Regions from separate parts of the Homo sapiens genome. Here regions 2, 3 and 4 are each linked to region 1. The links are contacts of gene promoters, found by promoter capture Hi-C in blood cells and fetal thymus (Javierre and others, 2016). All regions are on one chromosome and are shown on one strand. Each heading gives the region's core, a stretch centred on a gene start or on the middle of the fragment in contact. The rest is flanking DNA. Distances are from core to core; before and after follow the strand shown.

Evidence for each region. Contacts are between HindIII fragments. The CHiCAGO score rates a contact against its expected background, and 5 or more counts as called.
Region 2: a fragment that was not itself captured here is called in contact with the fragment with the promoter of NFATC2IP in region 1 in 1 of 17 cell types (fetal thymus); the score reaches 5.2 in fetal thymus.
Region 3: a fragment that was not itself captured here is called in contact with the fragment with the promoter of NFATC2IP in region 1 in 1 of 17 cell types (total B cells); the score reaches 6.5 in total B cells.
Region 4: the fragment with the promoter of KIF22 here is called in contact with the fragment with the promoter of NFATC2IP in region 1 in 1 of 17 cell types (fetal thymus); the score reaches 10.5 in fetal thymus.

The regions. Positions count from the first base shown.
Region 1 is chr16:28,947,990-28,953,524 of GRCh38, forward strand. It overlaps NFATC2IP (nuclear factor of activated T cells 2 interacting protein), which reads left to right and starts at 2,948. Exons shown (of 8, transcript NM_032815.4): 1 at 2,948-3,409; 2 at 4,143-4,215. The coding sequence starts at 3,023. It overlaps NFATC2IP-AS1 (NFATC2IP antisense RNA 1), which reads right to left. Exons shown (of 2, transcript NR_186408.1): 2 at 4,913-5,535. RefSeq lists enhancers at 2,270-2,804, 2,824-3,324 and silencers at 3,044-3,143, 3,284-3,403. The HindIII fragment of the contact is 4,735 bases long and covers 888-5,535 here.
Region 2 is chr16:29,930,669-29,936,203 of GRCh38, forward strand. It overlaps KCTD13-DT (KCTD13 divergent transcript), which reads left to right. Exons shown (of 3, transcript XR_001752362.2): 3 at 1-412. Among named protein-coding and RNA genes, the nearest start is that of KCTD13, 7.2 kb to the left of the region's middle. The HindIII fragment of the contact is 1,730 bases long and covers 1,735-3,464 here.
Region 3 is chr16:29,859,907-29,865,441 of GRCh38, forward strand. CDIPT (CDP-diacylglycerol--inositol 3-phosphatidyltransferase) reads right to left here and starts at 3,320. Exons shown (of 6, transcript NM_006319.5): 1 at 2,909-3,320; 2 at 2,680-2,814; 3 at 1,200-1,353; 4 at 675-756. The coding sequence starts at 2,951. It also overlaps the pseudogene CDIPTOSP. RefSeq lists enhancers at 747-1,285, 3,441-3,978 and silencers at 3,013-3,322, 3,333-3,392. The HindIII fragment of the contact is 2,733 bases long and covers 1,036-3,768 here.
Region 4 is chr16:29,787,265-29,792,799 of GRCh38, forward strand. KIF22 (kinesin family member 22) reads left to right here and starts at 3,487. Exons shown (of 14, transcript NM_007317.3): 1 at 3,487-3,565. The coding sequence starts at 3,496. LOC105371167 (a long non-coding RNA gene) reads left to right here and starts at 249. Exons shown (of 2, transcript XR_950983.1): 1 at 249-282; 2 at 658-859. RefSeq lists an enhancer at 2,898-3,297. The HindIII fragment of the contact is 11,757 bases long and covers 1-5,535 here.

The DNA of each region.
Region 1 (5,535 bases), core at 1,698-4,197:
GCAAGTTTGGTTTCTTTTCATTTCTCCCTCTCCCTTCTTCTCAAGTTTATAGGGGTGGTTGCAATACCATGTTTTCAAGATAAACAATGACTAGTCCTCACGTAAGAGGACGTGACAACACCTTTAGTCAAACATAGTTCAGCCTTTTTTTTTTTTTTTTTTTTTTGAGACGGAGTCTCGCTCTGTCGCCCAGGCTGGAGTGCAGTGGTGCAATCTCGGCTCACTGCAACCTGCGCCTCCTGGGTTCATGCCATGCTCCTGCCTCAGCCTCCCGAGTAGCTGGGACTACAGGCGCCCGCCACCACGCCCAGCTAATTTTTTGTATTTTTTAGTAGAGACAGGGTTTCACTGTGTTAGCCAGGATGGTCTCAATCTCTGGACCTTGTCATCCGCCCGCCTTGGCCTCCCAAAGTGCTGGGATTACAGGTATGGGCCATCGCGCCTGGCTTTTTTTTTTTTCTTTTGCAACAGAGTCTGGCTCTGTCTCCCAGGCTGGAGGGCAATGGCTCGATCTCGGGTCACTGCAACCTCCACCTCCTGGGTTCAACTGATCCTCCTGCCTCAGCCTCCCAAGTAGCTAGGAATACAGGCGCACACCACCATGCCCAGCTAATTTTGTTTTGTATTTTAGTAGAGATGGGGTTTCACCATGTTGGCCAGGCTGGTCTCGAACTCCTGACCTCAAGTGATCCACCCGCCTCGGCCTCCCAAAGTGCTGGGATTACAGGCGTGAGCCACCACGCCTGGCCCCAGTCTAACTTTATGATGGTAAGTGGGGTGACCACCTGTGTTATTGAATTGGCTTGTATGGTAGGGGTGAGTAGACACAAACTTTTCATATCTTTAGGACAGGAGGTAGCCTGCATCTTGGAGCAAGACTGAAGCCAAGCTTTTCCCTCCTAGGGGAAATGGGAGACAAGAGAGCTAACTGCCTTGACGACGGCATTTCGTCAGGGCTCCCAGGTCCTTGAATTCCTGAATTTGGAGACTGGCAAGTGGCTTATGTAGCCATCATGAAGATTTACATATGCCAGGCTGGGTGCTGTGGCTCACACCTGTAATCCCCGCACTTTGGGAGGCCGAGCCAGGTGGATCACTTGAGGTCAGGAGTTCAAGACCGGCCTGGGCAACATGGTGAAACCCCGTCTCTACTAAAAATACAAAAATTAGCTGGGCAAGGTGGCAGGCAACAGTAATCCCAGCTACTCGGGAAGCTGAGGCAAGAGAATCCTTTGAACCCTGAAGGTGGAGGTTGCAATGAGCTGAGATCGCACCATTGCACTCCAGCCTGGGCAACAGAGCAAAACTCCGAATCAAGAAAAAGAAAAAAATAAAATAAATAGTCGGGCGCAGTGGCTCACGCCTGTAATCCCAGCACTTTGGGAGGCCAAGGCGGGGGCGGAGGGGGGTGGATCACCTGAGGTCAGGAGTTCAAGACCAGCCTGACCAACATGGTGAGACCCCATCTCCACTAAAAATACAAAATTAGCTGGGCATGGTAGTGCACGCCTGTAATCAATCCCAGCTACTTGGAGACTGAGGCACGAGAATTGCTTGAATCTGGGAGGCAGAGGTTGCAGTGAACCGAGATCGAGCCATTGCACTCCAGCCTGGGCAATAAGAGCGAAACTCCATCTCAAAATAAATAAATAAATAAAATTAAATAAATGAATAAAATAAAATTTAAAAATAAATAAATACATAAGATTTTTTTTTGAGATGGAGTCTCACTCTGTTGCCCAGGCTGGAGTGCAGTGGTACAATCTTGGCTCAGTGCAACCTCTGCCTCCTGGGTTCCAGCGATTCTCCTGCCTCAGCCTCCCGAGTAGCTGAGATTATAGGCGCCTGCCACTACGCCTGTCTAATTTTTGTATTTTAGTAGAGACAGGGTTTTACCATGTTGGTCAGGCTGGTCTCGAACTCCTGACCTCAGGTGATCTGCCCACCTCGGCCTCCCAAAGTGCTGGATTATAGGCGTGAGCCACCACGCCCAGCCTTATTATTTCTATCTTTCTTTCTTTTTTTGAGAGAGAGTCTCGCTCTGTCGGCCAGGCTGGAGTGCAGCGGCAGGATCTGGCTCACTGTAACCTCTGCCTCCCGGGCTCAAGCAATTCTCCTGCCTCAGCCTCCTGAGTAGCTGGGATTACAGGCGCACGCCACCACGCCCGCCTAATTTTTGTATTTTTAGTAGAGACGGGGTTTCACCGTGTTGGCCAGGCTGGTCTTGAACTTCTGACCTCGTGATTCGCCTGCCTCGGCCTCCCAAAGTGCTGGGATTACAGGCGTGAGCCACCGCGCGCGGCCAGCCTTATTATTTCTTTAAAGCATTTTTGAGACAGGGTCTCGCCCTGTCACCCAGGCTGGGGTGCAGTGGTGCGATCTCCGCCTCCCGGGCTCCAGCGAAACTCCCACCTCAGCCTCCTGAGTAGTTGGGACCACAGAGGGGTGCCACCACGCCCGGGTAATTTTTGCATTCTTAGTAGAGACGCGGTTTCGCCACATTGGCCAGGCTGGTCTCAAACTCCTGAGCTCAACCAATCTGCCCGCCTCAGCCTTTCAAAGTGCCAGGATTACGGGCGTGAGGCACCGCGCCTGGTTAAATCCGCGGTTTCCACAGGGAATTCCAGGCCCGCCTTCCTTCTCCCGGAAACCTTACCGCTCGAGGACTACATTTCCCAGGATGCCCTGCGACTAACCAAGCCGGAAGACGGTTGTCTTGGTTGGGCGGGTCCGGGAGAGGCTCGTCTGTGGAGAGGTGGCCCAGCCAATGGGTGAGGCCGACTGAATCGAAAGCTACGGTGATTGTGCCGAGGTGATTGGAATCTTTGGCGCCTTGGTTTCAGAGGTGGGCGCATGATGAGCGGGTACAGAGACCAATGAAAAGGCGGGAAGGCGGATCCCGCGCGTGGGGCGCGAAGAGTTGCTGACGAGCAGGCTGTTTGTCCAATGCAAGGCGAAAGTCGCTGAAGGGGGCGGGGCGAGGCGAGAGGAGGCGGGCGTGTGTTGTGGAGGAAAGTGTGCCATGGCGGAGCCTGTGGGGAAGCGGGGCCGCTGGTCCGGAGGTAGCGGTGCCGGCCGAGGGGGTCGGGGCGGCTGGGGCGGTCGGGGCCGGCGTCCTCGGGCCCAGCGGTCTCCATCCCGGGGCACGCTGGACGTAGTGTCTGTGGACTTGGTCACCGACAGCGATGAGGAAATTCTGGAGGTCGCCACCGCTCGCGGTGCCGCGGACGAGGTTGAGGTGGAGCCCCCGGAGCCCCCGGGGCCGGTCGCGTCCCGGGATAACAGCAACAGTGACAGCGAAGGGGAGGACAGGCGGCCCGCAGGACCCCCGCGGGAGCCGGTCAGGCGGCGGCGGCGGCTGGTGCTGGATCCGGGGGAGGCGCCGCTGGTTCCGGTGTACTCGGGGAAGGTGCGCCCGGTCCCGGGGAGGGGACCGGCGGAAGGGCCAAGGGCTTGGCCTCCAGGGAGGGGCCGGCGTTCGGGGAGGGTAGGGCTATAGGGGTGTTGAGGCTGGCGTTCTGGGGCTGGTCCTCGGGCGTTAGGGTGTTGGAGGCAGGGAGAGGCAGGGCTCCGGGACTTTCTGCAGACTGGGGTGGTGAAGGAGGGTGGGATGCGTTGGAAGTTTAGGATTCCTAGGAGCTAGAGTCTTGGGGGCACAGGGAGGCTGAAGAGCTGGGATTCCTGAGATTTTGGAGAGGGACTGGGAGGACCTGGGGCCGTTGGATTTTGAGGTTGGGGTCCATGGCAAATGAAGCCAGGGAGCTGCAGTATTGGGGGTTGGGGTCCATGCGGGTTCAGAGAGGACTGGGCGGCTCCAGAGGCTGGGGTCCCCCGATGGTCGTGTGAGCAATGGGCTGAGAGTCCCTAAGAGTCAGGGGTAGAGGGGCGGCTAGTAACCTAGTTAAAAAGGGCAAGGAAGCATACATTTCAGAGTGTCTTAGGCAGATGGAGGAAAGGGTGAAGGGTACTTCCATTCTGAATCCTGGGGAAGCTGGACTTCTAGGTTGCCAGGAGAGGGCCAAGGTGTCCACGATCTTAGGGAGGATTTGGGAGCTGGGTGTCAGGGAAGAATTACCCCCAATTTTTTCTTTCGGTAGGGGAAGGACTTGGGCCTGACCCCTCTCCCTTCTTTGTCTTTGCAGGTTAAAAGCAGCCTTCGCCTTATCCCAGATGATCTATCCCTCCTGAAACTCTACCCTCCAGGGGATGAGGAAGGTAAGGGAGGGCCTCCAGGGAGAGGCACGCAGCCGCTGGCTTCTCTTAAGAGAATTCCTGGGGTTTATATTCCTGCAGTCAGTTGTCTCCTGAGGCTCAAGGGAAGAGCGTGGGAGAGGGGACTCCTGCATCCCAGCCACAGGAGCTGGATTGTTAACAAGCATAGAATGTATTAATGTATACATTTCTGGTGCCACCTGAAGAGATGCTGATTCTGTAGTCCTGGGCGGGGCAGGAGGCGGTAAGGTGTTGAGAATCTGTGACATCTTGTTACATCTGCAGCAAGTTCTTTGGGAACACTGGAGCCAGCAGGGTGTTCTCTGAATCTTATCAGGGATGCCCTGTCTTTGTCCTCCCCCACTGATGCATTTTTTGCAAACAACTCAAGGGCGGGGAATAGGAATCTAGTCTAATAAGGAAATAATCCAGTGGGCAAATGGAGACCTTGGACCAAGACTCTTGTACCATGAGGGAGTACAGTGGGGTGATTAAAAGCAAACAGGAGCCATCTGGCCTGGGTTTGAATCTCAGTTCTCTCTTTTTTTTTTTTTTTTTTAGACAGAGTTTCGCTTTTGTTGCCCAAGCTGGAGTGCAATGGCACGATCTCGGCTCGCTGCAACCTCCACCTCCTGGGTTCAAGCGATTCTCCTGCCTCAGCCTTCCCAGTAGCTGACTAATTCCCACCACGCCTGGCTAATTTTTTGTATTTTTAATAGAGATGGGGTTTCACCATGTTGGCCTGGCTGGTCTTGAACTCCTGACCTCAGGTGATCCGCCCATCTTAGCTTCCCAAATTGCTGGGATTACAGGCGTGAGCCACTGTGCCCGGCCTCAGCTCTATCTCTTAATAGCTGTGTGATCTTAGGCGAGTTTCTTTTTTCTTGTTTTGAGACAGAGTCTCACTCTGTCACCCAGGGTGGAGTGTAGTGGCGCAATCTTAGCTCACTGCAACCTCCATCTCCCAGGTTGAAGCCATTCTCCTGCCTCAGCCTCCCGAGTAGCAGGGATTACAGGCGCCCGCCACCATGTCTGGCTTTTTTGTATTTTTAGTAGAGATGGGGTTTCATCATGTTGGCCAGGCTGATCTCGAACTCCTGACCTTAGGTGATCTGTCTGCCTTGGTCACCCAAAGTGCTGGGATTACAGGCGTGAGCCACCACGCCCAGCCTGGGCAAGTTTCTTAATTTCTCAGTGCTTCAATTTCCTCATTATCAAAGTGGGGATAATAGTAGACCCCATTTTGGTGCTGATTTTGGTGAGAATTAACGAAAGGGAATATAGAGAGAGCTGCCTCTTGGCTAGATATATGCTTTAGGACAG
Region 2 (5,535 bases), core at 1,350-3,849, 980 kb after region 1:
TTGGCCACATTCTAGAGATACGAAGTTGTATAAGCACCATTCTTTTAGACCCCAGTCACAACTAAAATTGGGCCAAAGACCTGCTCCCTTCATGTTTTCTCACGATTGCAATAACATGTACCCATATATCTGTAACTGACACAATTTCACCAGGGACAGTTTGTAATTGCCGTAGCCATTTGGTGGAACTTTTGATAATAACAAGATTGTTCATTTGGGAGGTGCCTCAGAACACAAAGGGAAGAAACCTTTGTGAGATTGTTTGCCTTGTTTGTTAAAAACAAAGATTATTTTGTTTAACATAGGCAATATTTCATTTACCTATTTTGCATATTAATAAATGCTGTCGGCCAGGCACAGTGGCTGACACCTGTAATCCCAGCACTTTGGGAGGCTGAGGCGGGCGAATCACTTGAGGTCAGGAGTTTGAGACCAGCCTGGCCAACATGGTGAAACCCCGTCTCTACTAAATATACAAAAATCAGCCAGGCTTGGTGGTGCGCACCTGTAATCCCAGCTACTTTGGAGGCTGAAGCAGGAGAATTGTTTGAGTCCATGAAGTGGAGGCTACAGTGAACTGAGATCATGCCATTGTACTCCAGCCTGGGCAACAAGAGCAAAACTCCATCTAAAAAAAAAAGAAGGCCCTCACCAGATGTGGCTGCTTGACTTTGGAATTCCCACCCTCCAGAACTGTAAGAAATAAATTTTTAAAAATAAAGTACCCAGCCCCTCAGGTATTCTATTGCAACACAGAATGGACTAAGACAGTGTTTATATGTCAAAATCTATTTTCCTGTGTTTAAACTGTCTTCCTTCTCCTTGCAGAGGGAATATAACCTTAGCCTTTTGGAGTGATAATTTCATGTTTGTCTGAAGTAGCTTCTTCTCACATTTTCTTTTTTTTTTTTTTTATGTTCAAAATGCTTTTATTTCTAGGAATTTAGTTTTATTTTTAATTTTTTAATTATTATACTTTAAGTTTTAGGGTACATTTGCACAACGTGCAGGTTTGTTACATATGTATACATGTGCCATGTTGGTGTGCTGCACCCATTAACTCGTCATTTAGCATTAGGTATATCTCCTAATGCTATCCCTCCCCCCTCCCCCCACCCCACAACAGTCCCCGGTGTGTAATGTTCCTCTTTCTGTGTCCATGTGTTCTCATTGTTCAATTCCCACCTATGAGTGAGAACATGTGGTGTTTGGTTTTTTGTCCTTGCCATAGTTTGCTGAGAATGATGGTTTCCAGCTTCATCCATGTCTCTACGAAGGACATGAATTCATCAATTTTTATGGCTGCATAGTATTCCATGGTGTATATGTGCCACATTTTCTTAATCCAGTCTATCATTGTTGGACATTTGGCTTGGTTCCAAGTCTTTGCTATTGTGAATGGTGCCACAATAAACATATGTGTGCATGTGTCTTTATAGCAGCATGATTTATAATCCTTTGGGTATATACCCAGTAATGGAATGGCCGGGTCAAATGGTATTTCTAATTCTAGATCACTGAGGAATCGCCACACCAGCTTCCACAATGGTTGAAGTAGTTTACAGTCCCACCAACAGTGTAAAAGTGTTCCTATTTCTCCACATCCTCTCCAGCACCTGTTGTTTCCTGACTTTTTAATGATCGCCATTCTAACTGGTGTGAGATGGTATCTCATTGTCTTCTCACACTTTCCTGCTGTCCATTTCATTCTCTTTTTCCTCACCTCTCTTGGAAAGCTTTAAAGATTAACTAATCAAAAAATTTTTCAGTTGTATGTGCACAGTCTAGGTAAATCCAGTCCTAAAAGAAATAGAAATGCCTAAAATGCTAAAAGAAACAGAAAATCATATATATATACGTATATACATGTATATCAAGATCAGCTTGGGTAACATGTGAGACCCTGTCTATACAAAAAAAAATACATGTATATACGTATATATATATAGTGTCTGTACATATAGGCACTAAAAAGTATATTTATGTAATAGCCTTTGCTCTTCCAGTTAGAAGAAAAGATCTATCACGCCTGTAGTCCCAGCACTTTGGGAGGCCGAGGAGGGCGGATCACGAGGTCAGGAGATCGAGACCATCCTGGCTAACACGGGGAAACCCCGTCTCTACTAAAAAAAATACAAAAAAATTAGCCAGGCATGGTGGCGGGTGCCTGTAATCCCGGCTACTCAGGAGGCTGAGGCAGGAGAATCGCTTGAACCCAGGAGGTGGAGGTTGCTGTGAGCCGAGATTTTGCCACTGCACTGCAGCCTGGGCAACAAGAGCAAAAACTCCATTTCAAAAAAAAAAAAAAGGTCTTAGTTCCAAGACAAAAGAAGAGCTTTTGGCATGATTCAGTTAAATTTTTTATTCACTCATGTAAAAATGATGCCAGCGTGATATTTTGGTTTGTACAAGAACAGGGTTAATTCTCTTTCTCTCTCTCTCTCTCTCTGAGACAGGGTCCCACTCTGTCACCCCATCTGGACTGCAGTGGCATGATCATGGTTCACTGCAGCCTCAACCTTCTGGGCTCAAGAGATCCTCCTCTCTCAGCCTCCCAAGTAGCTGGGACCCCAGGCACACACCACCATGCCCAGCCAATTTTTTGTTGTTGTTGTATAGACAGGGTCTCACATGTTACCCAGGCTGATCTTGAGCTCCTGGGCTCAAGCAGTTCTCCCACCTTGGCCTCCCAAAGTGTTGTGATTACAGACATGAACCACTCACTGCTCCTGGCCCTCATGATTTAAGCCTTCTCAATGTATTTATGTTGATCTTATGAGTTAAGTAAATTGTGATGGTTTTCATAAATTGTTTAAATGAAAATTATACACAGGCACTCCTTGTTTTATTACACCTCACTTTATTGCTCTTCACAGATATTGCATTTCTTACAAATTGAAGATGTGTGGCAACCCTGTGTTGAGCAAGTGTTTTTTGTTTGTTTGTTTGTTTGTTTTTGCAGTGGAGTCTTGCTCAGGAGGCTGAGGCAGGAGAATCACTTGAATCCAGGAGGCAGAGGTTACAGTGAGCCAAGATCGCATCACTGCACTCCAGCCTGGGCAACAGAGCGAGACTCTGTCTCAAAAGAAAAAAAAAAACTGGAACAGCCTGATTGCTGATATGGAGAAAGTTTTAGTGGCCTGAATAGATCAAAACAGCCACAACAGCTCTAAATCTCTTCATTACTATGAAGACTGAGAGGGATTAGGAAGCTGCAGGAGAAAAATTTGAAGGTAGCAGAGGCTAGTTCATGAGATTTAAGGAAATGAGCCATCTGCAGAACATAAAAGTGCAAGATGAAGCAGCAAGTGCTGTGTAGAAGCTGCAGCAAGTTATCCAGAAGATCTAGTAAGATAATTGATGAAGATGGTTTACTAAACAACAGATTTCCAATGTAGACAGAACAGCCTTCTATTGGAAGAAGATGCCATCTAGGAATTTTATAGCTAGAGAGGAGAAGTCAAAGCTTTGAAGGACAGGTTGACTCTCTTGTCAGGGACTAATGCAGCTGGTCTGGTGACTTTAAGTTGAAGCCAATGCTCATTAACCATTTTGAAAGTCCTAGGGCCCTGAGGAATTATGCTAAATCCATTCTGCCTGTCCCCTATTAATGGAACAAAAAAGCCTGAATGGCCACATGTCTGTTTATAGCATGGTTCATGGAATATTTTAAGCCCACTGTTGAGACCTAGTGCTCAGAAAAAGAGATTCCTTTCAAAATATTATGACAGTTCCTCTGGTCATCCAAGAGCTCTAATGGAGATGTACAAGGAAATTAATGCTGTTTTCCTGCCTACTAATGCAGTATCTGTTCTTCAGCCCATAAGCCAAGGAGTAATTTCAATTTTCAAGTCTTCCTGCAGTTGACCCTTGAACATTGTGGGGGTTAGGGGTGCCAACCCCAACACAGTTGAAAATCCATATATAACTATTTTTCTTTTGTAGAGATAAGGTCTTAATATGTTGCCTGGGCTGGTCTTGTACTCCTGGCCTCAAGCAATCCTCCCACCTCAGCCTTTTTCTTTTTTTTTTTTTTTTTTTGACAGAGCCTCGATCTGTCACCCAGGCTGGAGTGCAGTGGTGTGATCTCAGCTCACTGCAACCTCCGCCTCCTGGGTTCAAGTGCTTCTCTTGCTCCAGCCTCCCAAATAGCTGGGATTACAGGTGTCCGCCACCACACCCAGCTAATTTTAGTATTTTTAATAGAGATGGGGTTTCACCATGTTGGCCAGGCTGGTCTTGAACTCTGACCACAAGTGATCTGCCCACCTCTGCCTTTCAAAGTACTGGGATTACAGGTGTGAGCCACTGCCCCTGGCCTTGGCCTCATATAACTTTTGACTCCCCCCAAACTTAACTACCAATAGCCTACTGTGAACCAGAAGCCTTACCAATAACAGAAACAGTCAATTAACACATACTCTGCATGTTTTATATATTATATACTGTAGTCTTACAACAAAGTAAAGTAGAGAAAAGAAAATGTTATTAGGAAAATCATAGGAAGAGAAAATATATTTATGGTACTGTACTGTATTATGTATACCATAAGTTTATGTCGTATGTTTATAAGATGAATCATCTGTCTGAAATGGTGGGCAGCCACAGCTGCAGACCCCAATCCACATTACATATCAAGCAGTTGAACTTTTTTTTGTAATGTCATGACTTTCCCCTGCTTCTTAGAAGCACTTCCAGCATGACTAGTGGCACTTCACGTGGGTCCCGTGGTGTTATACAAGGCTTACAGTATTGCACTAAACACAATAAAGAACACAGGAGAACCACAAGAGATCACTTTTTACTGTAATACATAATTTACTGGAGAGATAAACTGCTCATGTGGAGATGATTAGCATCACATAGCATTTAAAAAATTATTTTTTCTGCTGCACTTTAAAAATTCTTTTACTTTTTTTTTTTATTATTATTTTGTTGATGTTGAGATGGAGTCTTGCTCTGTCACCCAGGCAGGAGTGCGGTGGCACGATCTTGGCTCACTGCAAGCTCTGCCTCCCGGGTTCACGCCATTCTCCTGCCTCAGCCTCCTGAGTAAGCTGGGACTACAGGCGCCCGCCACAACGCCCGGCTAATTTTTTTGTATTTTTTTTAGTAGAAACAGGATTTCCTCATGTTAGCCAGGATGGTCTCAATCTCCTGACCTTGTGATCCGCCCTCCTCAGCCTCCCAAAGTGCTGGGATTACAGGCGTGAGCCACTGTGCCCGGCCTGCTAATTTTTTAATTTTAAATTATTATGGGTGTATTAGTCCATTTTCATATTGCTATGAAGAGATACTTGAGACTCGGTAATTTATAAAGAAAAAGAGGTTTAATAGATTCACAGTTCCACATGTCTGGGGAGGCCTCACCATCATGACAGAAGGCGAAGGAGGAGCAAAGACACGTCTTACATGGTGGCAGGCAAGAGAGTGTGTGCAGGGGAACTGCCCTTTATAAAACTATCAGAGCTCATGAGACTTATTCACTATCATGGGAACCGCATGGGACCATCTTGGTTCACTGCAACCTCCACC
Region 3 (5,535 bases), core at 1,152-3,651, 910 kb after region 1:
AGGCACAAGAATCGCTTGAACCCAGCAGGCAGAGGTTGCAGTGAGCCGATAACCCGCCACTGAACTCCAGCCTGGGTGACAGAGCAGGACTCTGTCTCAAAAAAATAAATAAATAAATAAATAAACCCTTGGTCTCACGCAATCCTTCCACCTTAGCCTCCTAAGTAGAGACTACAGGCGTGTACCACTGTGCCTGGCTAAGCTAATTCAAGATTTTGTGTGTGTGTGGAAACAGAGTCTCACTTTGTTGCCCAGGCTGGTCTCAAACTCCTGGCCTCAAGCAATCCTCCCACCTCAGCCTCCCAAAGCGCTGGGATTACAGGCATGAGCCACCATGCCCAGCCATTATCTTTTTAAAAATCCTTCCAGAGGCTGCCTGTGTTCCTGGAATCAAGTCCACACTCCAGCCCTGCAGACCTCTCTGGCTTATCTCCCTTCCCGCTTTCAGTCCCTTCTCTTTGCAGGCCTCATTCCCACTTGTTCCCTGGAGTAATTCACACAGGCCTTCCCCACCAATCCTCCTCCTCCACGCCTCAGCTTACGGGCCCTCCTCCTGGAGTGACTGGGCAGGCCCTGCTCTGCGCCCTCGCCTTCTCCTAGGCTAGGACCAGGATTCAGCCCAGGGCTTCCCACAGCCAAGAGCCTGAGGGGTGGGGTGTGCAGGAAATGCTTACCCTCGAGGTGTAGTAGATCCGAAGCACCGGATTCCCGGACAAGTCGATCATCTTGTGACTCTCACTGCCTCGGACCACAGAACTTGGGGAGAAAACAGGGGAACCCACAAGGTTTCATGACCACTACCATGCATCCAATCCTCATGTTAACACCTATTGTACAGATGGAAAACTGGGCACGGCTAAGGACCAGTATCCTGCCGAAAGCCACAGTTACCTATTTGGGGGCAGAGTCAGGATTCAAATGCCACATTTGAAAGCTCCCATGCCCCTTCCTATAAGCTGTCACCTATATGGAATCCTAGAATACCCAGCCAGAAGAGTCCTAAGAATTGCTTAATGCAACTGTAAACATGACTGAAGCTTTAAAGAGAGGCAGGTTTGCCTGGGGTCTTTCTACAAAGCAGAGCTAAAAAGGAGCCCTTCCAGGATGCCTAGTGCCATCCCAGACACCCTTCCGTCTAGGCTCAGCCCACCCCACTGTAATGTCTCCAAGTGGCCCAGGCCCCCAGAATCGCAGCAGACCTGTGGAGGTGCAGCCAGTGACTGGCCACATCCAAACTCATGCTGATTTGGAAGAACAGCGTGGCTCCAGGGTACAGCAGGGCCAGGTTGACCAACAGGCACATGGTGGAGCAGCGGTCCGTCAGCATGTCCAGCATGGCCCCAAACCGGGTTCCTGGAAGATTAGGTGGGCAAGGGCTGTTATGGCACAGTGGATGCAGGACAGGTGCCCATATTTGGTTTATCACTCTGACGCAGGGTGTAAACGAAGACTGGAAGTGTCCGCCTGCCTGGGGAGGAACGCAGGCTAGAAAACAGGCTGTGTGTGAGGTCAGTGGGCAAAGGTCACCATGGCATGAACTGAGAAAGGCATGAGAGTGGAGGGAACAGGGTAGGAGGAGAGGAAAGCTATGTCTGCAACTCATCAACCCCAGAACCAAGACTCCAGGGCTAGATAGAGACTTGATGCCTCAGGGGAAGCCTTACAGTTGGGTCTGGAGAACAGATTAAAAAATTAGTCAACCCTCCAGAAGCCATCACCCTTCCCTCTCCATCCTCCCTCTAAGCATGCCTTCTGGAACCCCAACTGCTTATGCAGGGCACACAGTAGGCCTCCAGTAAACACCTGTTGAATACACTGTTTTTTGTTTTTTGTTTTTTTTTTTCCGAGACAGAGTCTTGCTCTGTCGCCCAGGCTGGAGTGCAATGGCGCAATCTTGGCTCACTGCAACCTCCGCCTCCCGGGTTCAAGCAATTCTCCTGCCTTAGCCTCCCGAGTAGCTGGGATTACAGGCACGCGTCACCAAGCCCGCTAATTTTTGTATTTTTAGTAGAGACAGGGTTTCACCATGTTGGCCAGGCTGGTCTCGAACTCCTGAACTCGTGATCCACCCACCTCGGCCTCCCAAAGTGCTGGGATTACAGGCGTGAGCCACCGCCCCTGGCCTGAATGGACTTGTATTCAGAGAGACCTCCAGCAGCGCCACCGCCATGTCATGTCTTGCTAATCCACACCTCTCACAAGCAGTGAGTTCTCAAGAGCTAGCTTAAATTCCTTTTGCTACAAAATCAGTCCATTCTTGCTGGGCGCGGCACTTTGGGAGCAAGGCAGGAGGATCGCTTGAGGCTAGGAGCTGGGGACCAATCTGGGCGACACTGCAAGACCCAGTCTCTACAAAAATTTAAAAATTAGCCGGGTGTGGTGGCACGCTCCTGTAGTCCCAGCTAGTCAGGAGGCTGAGGTGGGAGGATTACTTGAGCCCAGAAGATGGGGGCTGCAGTGAGCCATGATCGCGCCACTGCACTCCAGCCTAAGTGACAGAGCGAGACCCTGTCTCAAAAACAAAAAAACAAAACACAAAACAAAAAGCCCCAGGCCATCCTGTTCTGCTTTTTCCAGAGATGGGAATGACAGCCCTCTGACTCTGAGGTCCCGAGGAGGCAGGGGAAGGGAGGAGGGGATTGTTGAACCCCAAGGCTGGCTGAGAGGGGTGTCTGTCACCTTGATTAAGAGCGCGAGCAGCGTGTCCATCGAAAGCGTCCAGCAGGCCGCTGAGCAGGTAGAAGGAGGAGGCCGTGAGGGGGCAGCAGGGCATGAAGTAGAAAGAAATGATGGCGAAGACAATCCGGGCATAACCTTGGAACGGGACGCGGGGAGACAGGGCAGGATCAGGGAGCCCGCCAAGGCCCCTCGCCCTCTCGTTCGGCCCGGGGCCGTGGGCAGCACTCACCGATGAGGTTGGGCACGAACAGGAAGATATTTTCGTCTGGCATCGCGGCGCCTCCCTTGCTGCCCCGGGCCTGCTCTGGAGATGCCAGTGCTGTCCCAGCCCCGCAGCGCGGCCTCAGCCTCCGGCCCGGCGCATCGGCCGCACCACCTGCGCCCTGGACCCCGCCGCCCCAACCTGGCCCCAGATGCTGAAGCCCGCAGCCGTCGGGAGCATGGACCGGCCCCGAGGTGCGCGGGACGCAGGGGGCGCGCGCAGTCCGCCCTTCCTACCCGCAACCTCCCTCGCCTCTGCCAGCCCCGCAGGCGCTCCGGGCCTCCAGCTGCGGTCGCCGCTGCTCCAGCTGCGCGTGGCTTCCGGGAACCTCCTCCTCCGCGCCCGTCGTTGCAAAATTGGAGAGAGGAAAAAGTGGCTTAAAAAAATAGTTGCGGCCCCTTTAAGGCCTGTCGGCTTCCTTTCCCTTTTCCTCCCTCCGCCCCTCTCCCTTGGCTCGTACCAAAGCGCAGAGGAGGAGAGGGAGGAAGGAACCATTAACGTCAAGCAAAGTTAGAAACGGAAAAGGAAAGGGTAAAAGAGAAGACCGAATAAAAATCTCTGCTTTCCTTTTGTGGAGGGTATGACTTCCTGGAGGCAAAGATAAGGCGATAAAATTCCTCCTCCTGAGTCTTTGCGTCCCCAAGAGGCCAGGAGATTTGGTGCAGTCCTCACTTTACTCCCCGCCCCCTAAGTCTCCAGCCGCCTTTGCTCTCGCAGGCTCTAGGCGGCTAGAGAGGCTCCAGAGCGCCCTGCAGATGGGTTGCTTTTCGCGTGCCCCTTGTGATGGGAGGATTAGGTCGCAGGCTCCACCCTACGTCATCCTCCCAAGCTTCTCAAGCGTCTGGCGCTTGGGGTCACTGCCCTCAAGGAGGCACCTGGAGGGGTACGGAGGGGAGGCTGGAGGAGCAAACGGGGCGCGCTAGGAAATTCCTCTGTCTTTAGTTCTAGAACCCCTGATCTCCTAGCAACGAGGCTGCGGAACCTCTGCAGACTCCAAGGGTTTTATAGCGTCCGGTAGCGACACGGAGCCGGCTCCCCCTTTTCCAGCCTTCCTCCCCATCTCCCATTCTCCATCCCCCACGACCTATACCAGAGGTCCTTAGGCCTCCACGTCTCTCCTTTTGCCGAGTAGCCCAAGGTTTCCACCCATCTGCCAGGTCTGGGGCGTCAAGTCGGCTGCCTCGGCTTGGGAAGGTGCTTGGGAGGGAAGAAGGAAGGAGAGGCCCACCAGGCGAAGGGGTGAGGGGTAGGGGGTTGCGGGAGTTCCCTCTCACTCCCGAAGATATAAAGCAACCTTTATTATTATTATTATTTTTTCTTGTGAGAGGGAATGAGGCAGCGGGATGTTTCCTCTAAAGGCCTTGTTTAAACCTGGGCCCGGGGAATGGTGGTGGACTGGGTTCTGGGGGAAAGCGGGCTGGTTTCTCAGGTCAACTCAGGCTTCGACTGTTCCCAGGGGGATGGCGTCCACTCCGATGGGGAATGAGGGGGAGAAGAAGAGCAGCTGGCCATCTCAAGCTGCACCCTCCTTGAGAGGAGGTCCGGTGAGCACTGCAGGGAACCCTAGAGGTGGGAATGTAATGAAGTGAAAGCCTCCCAGGCAGAGGCACCCCGTGCCAGGTCTGAGCCACGGGCCCTGAGACTCTAGCCTCAACCCTGAGTCCTGAAGCCCCGACTCATAGCTCTCAGCACTAGGCCCTGACTCTAAACCCCCACCAAACCCCCCTCCCCCAGGTCCAGAGCTTTCTAGCTAAATCTCAAGGCCCAGTCCTTCAGGAGCAAGCTCCTTGGACCCACAGGCCCCAGCCTGGGAACTCCCACAGCCAGCACTCCCATGTGGGAGCTCCCAGGCTGAACCCCTCCGGCTTTTCCTTTCCCAGGCTTCGTTATCTCGTTCTGAGGAATACCTGTCCCAGATCAGTGCAGAACTCATGGAGGAGGCTTTGTGCACTGCTTGCTGCCACTTGAACCCTGTGCCCATCAAAAAAAAGCAGTCACAAGACCAAGCGACTCAGATATCCAAACGCGGTAACCCCCTGCCTCAGGACCACCGTGTCTAGAGAACCGCTGCCCCCACTATGCCTGGTTACAGTCCCTGACCCCTCCCACCCCTAGCTGAACTCTCCAGGAGTCTGTGCCCATCTCATCCATCTCACAGCCAGCCCTAGGACCTGTGAAATGCCCCTCTCACCCGCTAACCCAGTACCCACTCCTCACTGCTGGCCGAGAATCCCCTTAGCCCCGTCTGCCCTGGCCGCATCTCTTCTGGCCACGGGGATAGTCCTTTCTCTGACTAGGTCCTCTACTTCCAGCATTCTTCACCAAGACCTGAGGCACAGACACCTGGTGAGTGAGGCTTCAAGGGAGATGCTCTTTGTCCTGGGAGAGAGGTGAGGAACCTGGAGGGGAGAGAGTGAGGGTTTCACAATATCCCAGCAGGGTGGGGGAATTTTTGAACCGTGCACTTCCATTCTATTCTGCCCTGATCCTCAAATTCTGAATTCTCAGCCCTCTCCCCTCTCTTCCACCATCTCCTGCTCGGACAGAAACCGTACCTGCAGCAAGGCATACCTCCTGCCAACTCCTGGTGAAAA
Region 4 (5,535 bases), core at 2,237-4,736, 840 kb after region 1:
TTGTTTCTTTCTCTGTCATCCCAGCAGGAGTGCACAGGCATGACCTCAGCTCACTGCAACCTCCACTTCCTGGGTTCAAGCGATCCTCCTGCCTCAGTCTCCCAAGTAGCTGGGACTATAGGCACATGCCACCACATCTGGCTAATTTTTTTTCTTTCAGATGGAGTCTTGCTCTGTCCCTCAGGCTGGAGTGCAGTGGTGCAATCTCAGCTCACTGCAACCTCCAACTCCTGTGTTCAAGTGATTCTCCTGCCTCAGCCTCCTGAATAGCTGGGATTACAGGTGTGTGCCACCACGCCGGGGTAATTTTTGTGTCTTTAGTAGAGACAGGGTTTCCCCATGTTGGCCAGGCTAGTGTCAAACTCCTGACTTCAGGTGATCTGCCCGCCTCAGCCTCCCAAAGTGTTGAGATTACAGGCATGAGCCACCACGCCTGGCCAAACCACCCTAATTTCTACCAGCCAGATGCAGATCCTTAAAACAACCCTAGGAGGTATTTCAACCATTATTCCCTTTTAATATCTGAGGAAATGGAGGCACAAAGAGGCTAAATCTCTGGTCTGGGCAGCCTGGCACCAAGGCCCTGTACCTAAATGGTTTATTCAAACATAGAAGCCCTATCTCCTTGATCTATGCTCTTTTCACTATTTCTGGCAGGTTTCTTACCAAATATCTGGAGTTGACAACAAATGTGAAAACTGAACAGCCTTTTCTGACAGGCAAGGAAGACCAAACTGCCAATTGCCAATGTCAGATGTTCTCAAAGTATGGTCCAGAGACTTCTGGGAGTCCCTGAGACACTTTCAGTGGGTCTACAAGTTCAAAACTATTTTCATAATAAAACTAAGATACCAATTGACTTCTCTTGCATTGTTTCTCAAGTATATAGTGGAGTATTCAAAATACTATATTATATGTGACATCACAACAGCATGAATGCAGAAGCAGATATGAGAATCTAGTTTTTTTGTGTGTCTTTGAGACAAGGTCTCCCTCTGTCACTGAAGCCAGAGTGCAGTGGCACCATCACGGCTCACTGCAGCCTCAAACTCCTGGGCTTAAGCAATCCTCCCACCTCAGCCTCCCAAGTAGCTGGGAATATAGGTGTGTGCCACCATGCCTGGCTAATTTTATTTTTTAAGAGATGGAGGTAGGCCAGGCACAGTGGCTCACGCCTGTAATCCCAGCACTTTGGGAGGCCGAGGCGGGTGGATCACGAGGTCAGGATATCAAGACCATCCTGGCTAACACGGTGAAACCCCGTCTCTACTAAAAATACAAAAAATTAGCCGGGCGTGGTGGCAGGTGCCTGTAGTCCCAGCTACTCGGGAGGCTGAGGCAGAAGAGTGGCGTGAACCCGGGAGGTGGAGCTTGCAGTGAGCCGAGATGGCGCCACTGCACTCCGGCCTGGGCCACAGAGCGAGACTCCGTCTCAAAAAAAAAAAGAGATGGAGGTCTAGGCAGGGCTTGGTAGCTCACGTCTGTAATCCCAGCACTTTGGGAGGCCGAGGCGGATGGATCACCTGAGGTCATGAGTTCAAGACCAGCCTGACCAACATGGAGAAACCCCGTCTCTACTAAAAACACAAAATCAGCCATGCACGGTGGTGCATGCCTGTAATCCCAGCTACTCGGGAGGCTGAGGCAGGAGAATTGCTTGAACCCAGGAGGCGGAGGTTACGGTGAGCTGAGATTGCGCCACTGCACTCCAGCCTGAGCAACAGAGAGAGACTATGTCTCAAAAAAAAAAAGTGCACACCTCTCTGGTTTTTAGTATGTTTATTACGTTACGCAGCCATCATCACTACTTCATTCCAAAATATTTAATATTTCCATCACCCCCAAAAGAAACTCGTTATATCTATTGCTGTAGTGCCAGCTCCTCAGCCCCTCACCATCCCCTGGCAACCACTACTTAGATGTCCTTTTTATGTCTATGGGTTTTTTACTGTAATTTTTAAATTCATTAATGTCAACTTTAATTTAGTTTCACTTCACACACAGTATATACGGCCAGGCCTGGTGGTTCACACCTGTAATCCCAGCACTTTGGGAGGCCAAGGCGGGTGGATCACTTGAGGTCAGGAGTTTGAGACCAGCCTGGCCAACATGGTGAAACCCTGTCTCCATAAAAATACAAAAATTAGCTGAGCGTGGTGGTGCACACCTGTAATCCCAGCTACTCGGGAGGCTGAGGCAGGAGAATCACTTGAACCCAAGAGGCAGAGGTTGGAGTGAACCGAGATTGAGCCACTGCACTCTAGCCTGGGAGATGGAAGTGAAACCCCGTCTCAAAAACAAAAAAACAAAAACCCTCATATACACAAAACATCTTTGGAGGCCTCATTTTTAAAAACTGTAGTGGGATCCCAAGGCAAAACGTTTCAGAAACACTGATCTAAGATTTGTGTTTTTTGTTTTGAGACGGAGTCTCACTCTGGCGCCGTGGCTGGAGTGCGGTGGCACCATCTCGGCTCATTGCAACCTACACCTCCCGGGTTCAAGCGATTCTCCTGCCTCAGCCTCCCGAGTAGCTAGGACTACAGGCGTGCCACCATCCCCGGCTAATTTTTGTGTTTTTAGTAGAGACGGGGTTTCGCCATGTTGGCCAGGCTGGTCTCGAGCTCCTCACCTCAGGTGAGCCTCCCGCCTCAGCCTCCCAAAGTGCTGGGATTACAGGACTGAGCCACCGCGCCCGGCCCGTGTTTTGTTTTGTTGTTCAACAGGGTGGAACATAATGTCTAAACCTGGGCCCTACCTACCTGGTGCTCAAAAGTGGAATGACCGTCCCTAGCCAACCCTTCAGAAAGGACAGAGAGCTACTCAACGGACTGCTGTACTCTTAAGGACTGGGAACCGGAACCGTGGGTGAGTGGGACTGAATCACAGACTAAGCGTTTTCCACGCTTCGCCGACGTGCTGAGTGCCAAGTTATAAAGACAGGAACATCCAAGCTGCTCTCCTGGGCTGACACGGACGCGAGGGGACCTACAGTGGCCTTGGGCCCAGCAGGCAGCGACTGCAACGTGACTGCCCAGAGTCCAGCCCCTGGGGCCCAGATCTACAGAACCGACCAGACGTGATAGCCCTTTGGCTGGGGCTGCAGTCCCACGATCCACACAACGACCCTGGCTCCGCAGACGCGCCAACCACCCACGGAGGCAAGAAACTGCAGAAAGTAAAGGGAAAGGGAGCCCAGTGCCGGGCGGCGCTGAGCAGCTCCCCCAGCGGCCACCGTCGCCAACATCCCTGCGTAGGGGTTTGTATCGCAGCGCGCTTCCAGACATCAACGGCTGCGCGGCCCACGCGCGCGCATGCGTCCTGACCAGGGGAACCTTTTCTTGGGGACCCGGAGGCGAGCGCTGGAAGGCGGGATAGTGGCGACCCACACGCAGCAGCTTCCGGCGGCGCGTAGTCTTGATTGGTGGAACCTGGGAGAGGGGGCGGGGCACCGGGGAATTCGAATGGGAGAGGCGGGCCCAAGGAGGGAGTGGAATGGCCGCGGGCGGCTCGACGCAGCAGAGGCGACGCGAGATGGCGGCAGCTTCAGCGGCGGCGATCTCAGGTACTTGAGCCCGGCCTGGGCAAGGCGGGTACCGACGTCTGGAGTTTAGTGGGAGTTATGTGTCGGAGTGTGGTCCAGGCTCTGCGGGTTGTCGCGGAGAGGCGGCCATGGCGCAGGGGCGGGGAGAGGGGGACGGTGAGAGTGTGGGGTCGCGAGCCGGTCGCCCCGCCTGGCTCCTGCCTTCTCCCTGTTTCCTGCTCTCCCCTTGGGTCAGTAGACTCGGGTCTCCGGTCCAGGCTCTTGGCTTGAACCCCGCGCACTTTTTCTTTGTGAGCTTCGGTTTCTTCGTCTGTGAAACGGGGGTCATGGCCTCATCCCTGGAGATCACCTGAATAAGCAAGAGAAGAGTGGCGGACGCTCTAGCCACGAGGACGAGAAGAAGGGAGCCGGAGGCGTGTATTGGGAAGGGTTCTGTGTGGGACATGGTGTTTGGGTGCAGAGACATCCCTGAGAGATGCAAGAGGACGGGCTGAGGAACAGACCCGGCTGCTGCTGGGTTTGAGTTGGCAGCGTAAGATGCTCTGCGATTACAGGAAAACGAAATAAAAGACTAAAATTTCCTTTCACTCTAGCATGGAAGTGAATGCTATTTTAGGGTTGGAAAGGCTGTTAGGACACCCAAAATCTTGTATGTGAGTATTTGTTTACATGTGCCTCTCTAACCCGGAGACTTAATCCTCGTTAGTGATGATGGTGAGCGCCATAGTAATTCACTGGAGCCCTCGTTAGCCTCGTGGGGAAACAGACATTTAGGAGAATGCCTAACACATGTAGAGCTCTTGCTATGTGCCAGGCACAGTTGTAGGCATTTTATGGTGGTGAACCATTTATTGTCCACACAATGCTATCAGGTTGTTACTATTACTGTCTTTGTTTTACACAGGAAACTGAGGTTAGTTTGTTCAGAGTTAACACAACTAGTAAATATTGGGGCTTGAATTCGCTCTCAAGGAGTCTGAGTGTAGAACCTCTGCTCTTAACCATTATGCCCAAGTACATGTTATCCCTGCTGGCTGAGCACAGTCTCCCCTTACCCTTCGAAGATGCACTGTGTCCGGTGCATGGTAGATATGAAAATGCCTGAATGAATAATGTCCCTTCCTCGAGGAATTTACAGTCTGTTTCAATAGAGTGTCACATACGTAGATGTAATACGAAACACAATGAGAGATGTGTATAAACTGAGGGTGTGGAATCTGAAGTAAGCCCTTGAGTATTCTGGGAGGACTTCATTAAGGGAGTGAATGATACTTGAGATGGGTTTCAAAGGTTGGATAGGAGTTTGCCAGGCCTTGACTAAGAAGACAAGAACAGCAAGTGTTTTCTTATTTATGATGTAAGATGCTCTCTTAGCTCAATTTCCTCATCAATAAAAGGGAGAAGAGTGAATGAAATTTAGGAATTGTGAAAGAAGGGAAAATTAATAATTGCTAGCCTGGTCCAAGCTCAAGGTTGCTTTTATCATGAAAGGGCTAGACTCTTGTGCAGTAAATAATTGTTTACATGTGGCCCTCCCCTCTTCCCTCCTACCCTGGACTGTGAGCCCTGGGGCAGGAATGGCCGTGAGCCATTTTCATGATGGAAATGAACAAGCCAGTGATTAGTAGTTTATTCACTAAATCTTAATTTTTTTCAGCAAATACTTCTTGAGGGCCTACTCTGCGCCAGGTGTTGGGGTTAGAAAGGTGAGCAGGATAAAACTTGTTCTCACAGTTGGCAGTCAGGTGGAGAAAGTGACAAACACGCAATAGTGGGGTGTGACAAATGCTTATGGAGGGGCTAACATGAGCTGTGGTTGCACCTGATAAAGCCTTAGTGTCTACCAGGAAAGGGTTTTTGGTTTTGTTTTTTAAGAGGAGTTAAAATGTGTTTACCTTAGTCACTCCAGGGTGGGGTGGGGAGCAATGCAGATATTCTAGGGAGAGAGATTAACGTGGACAAAAATCCAAAGGTGCAAGAGAACTTGGAGT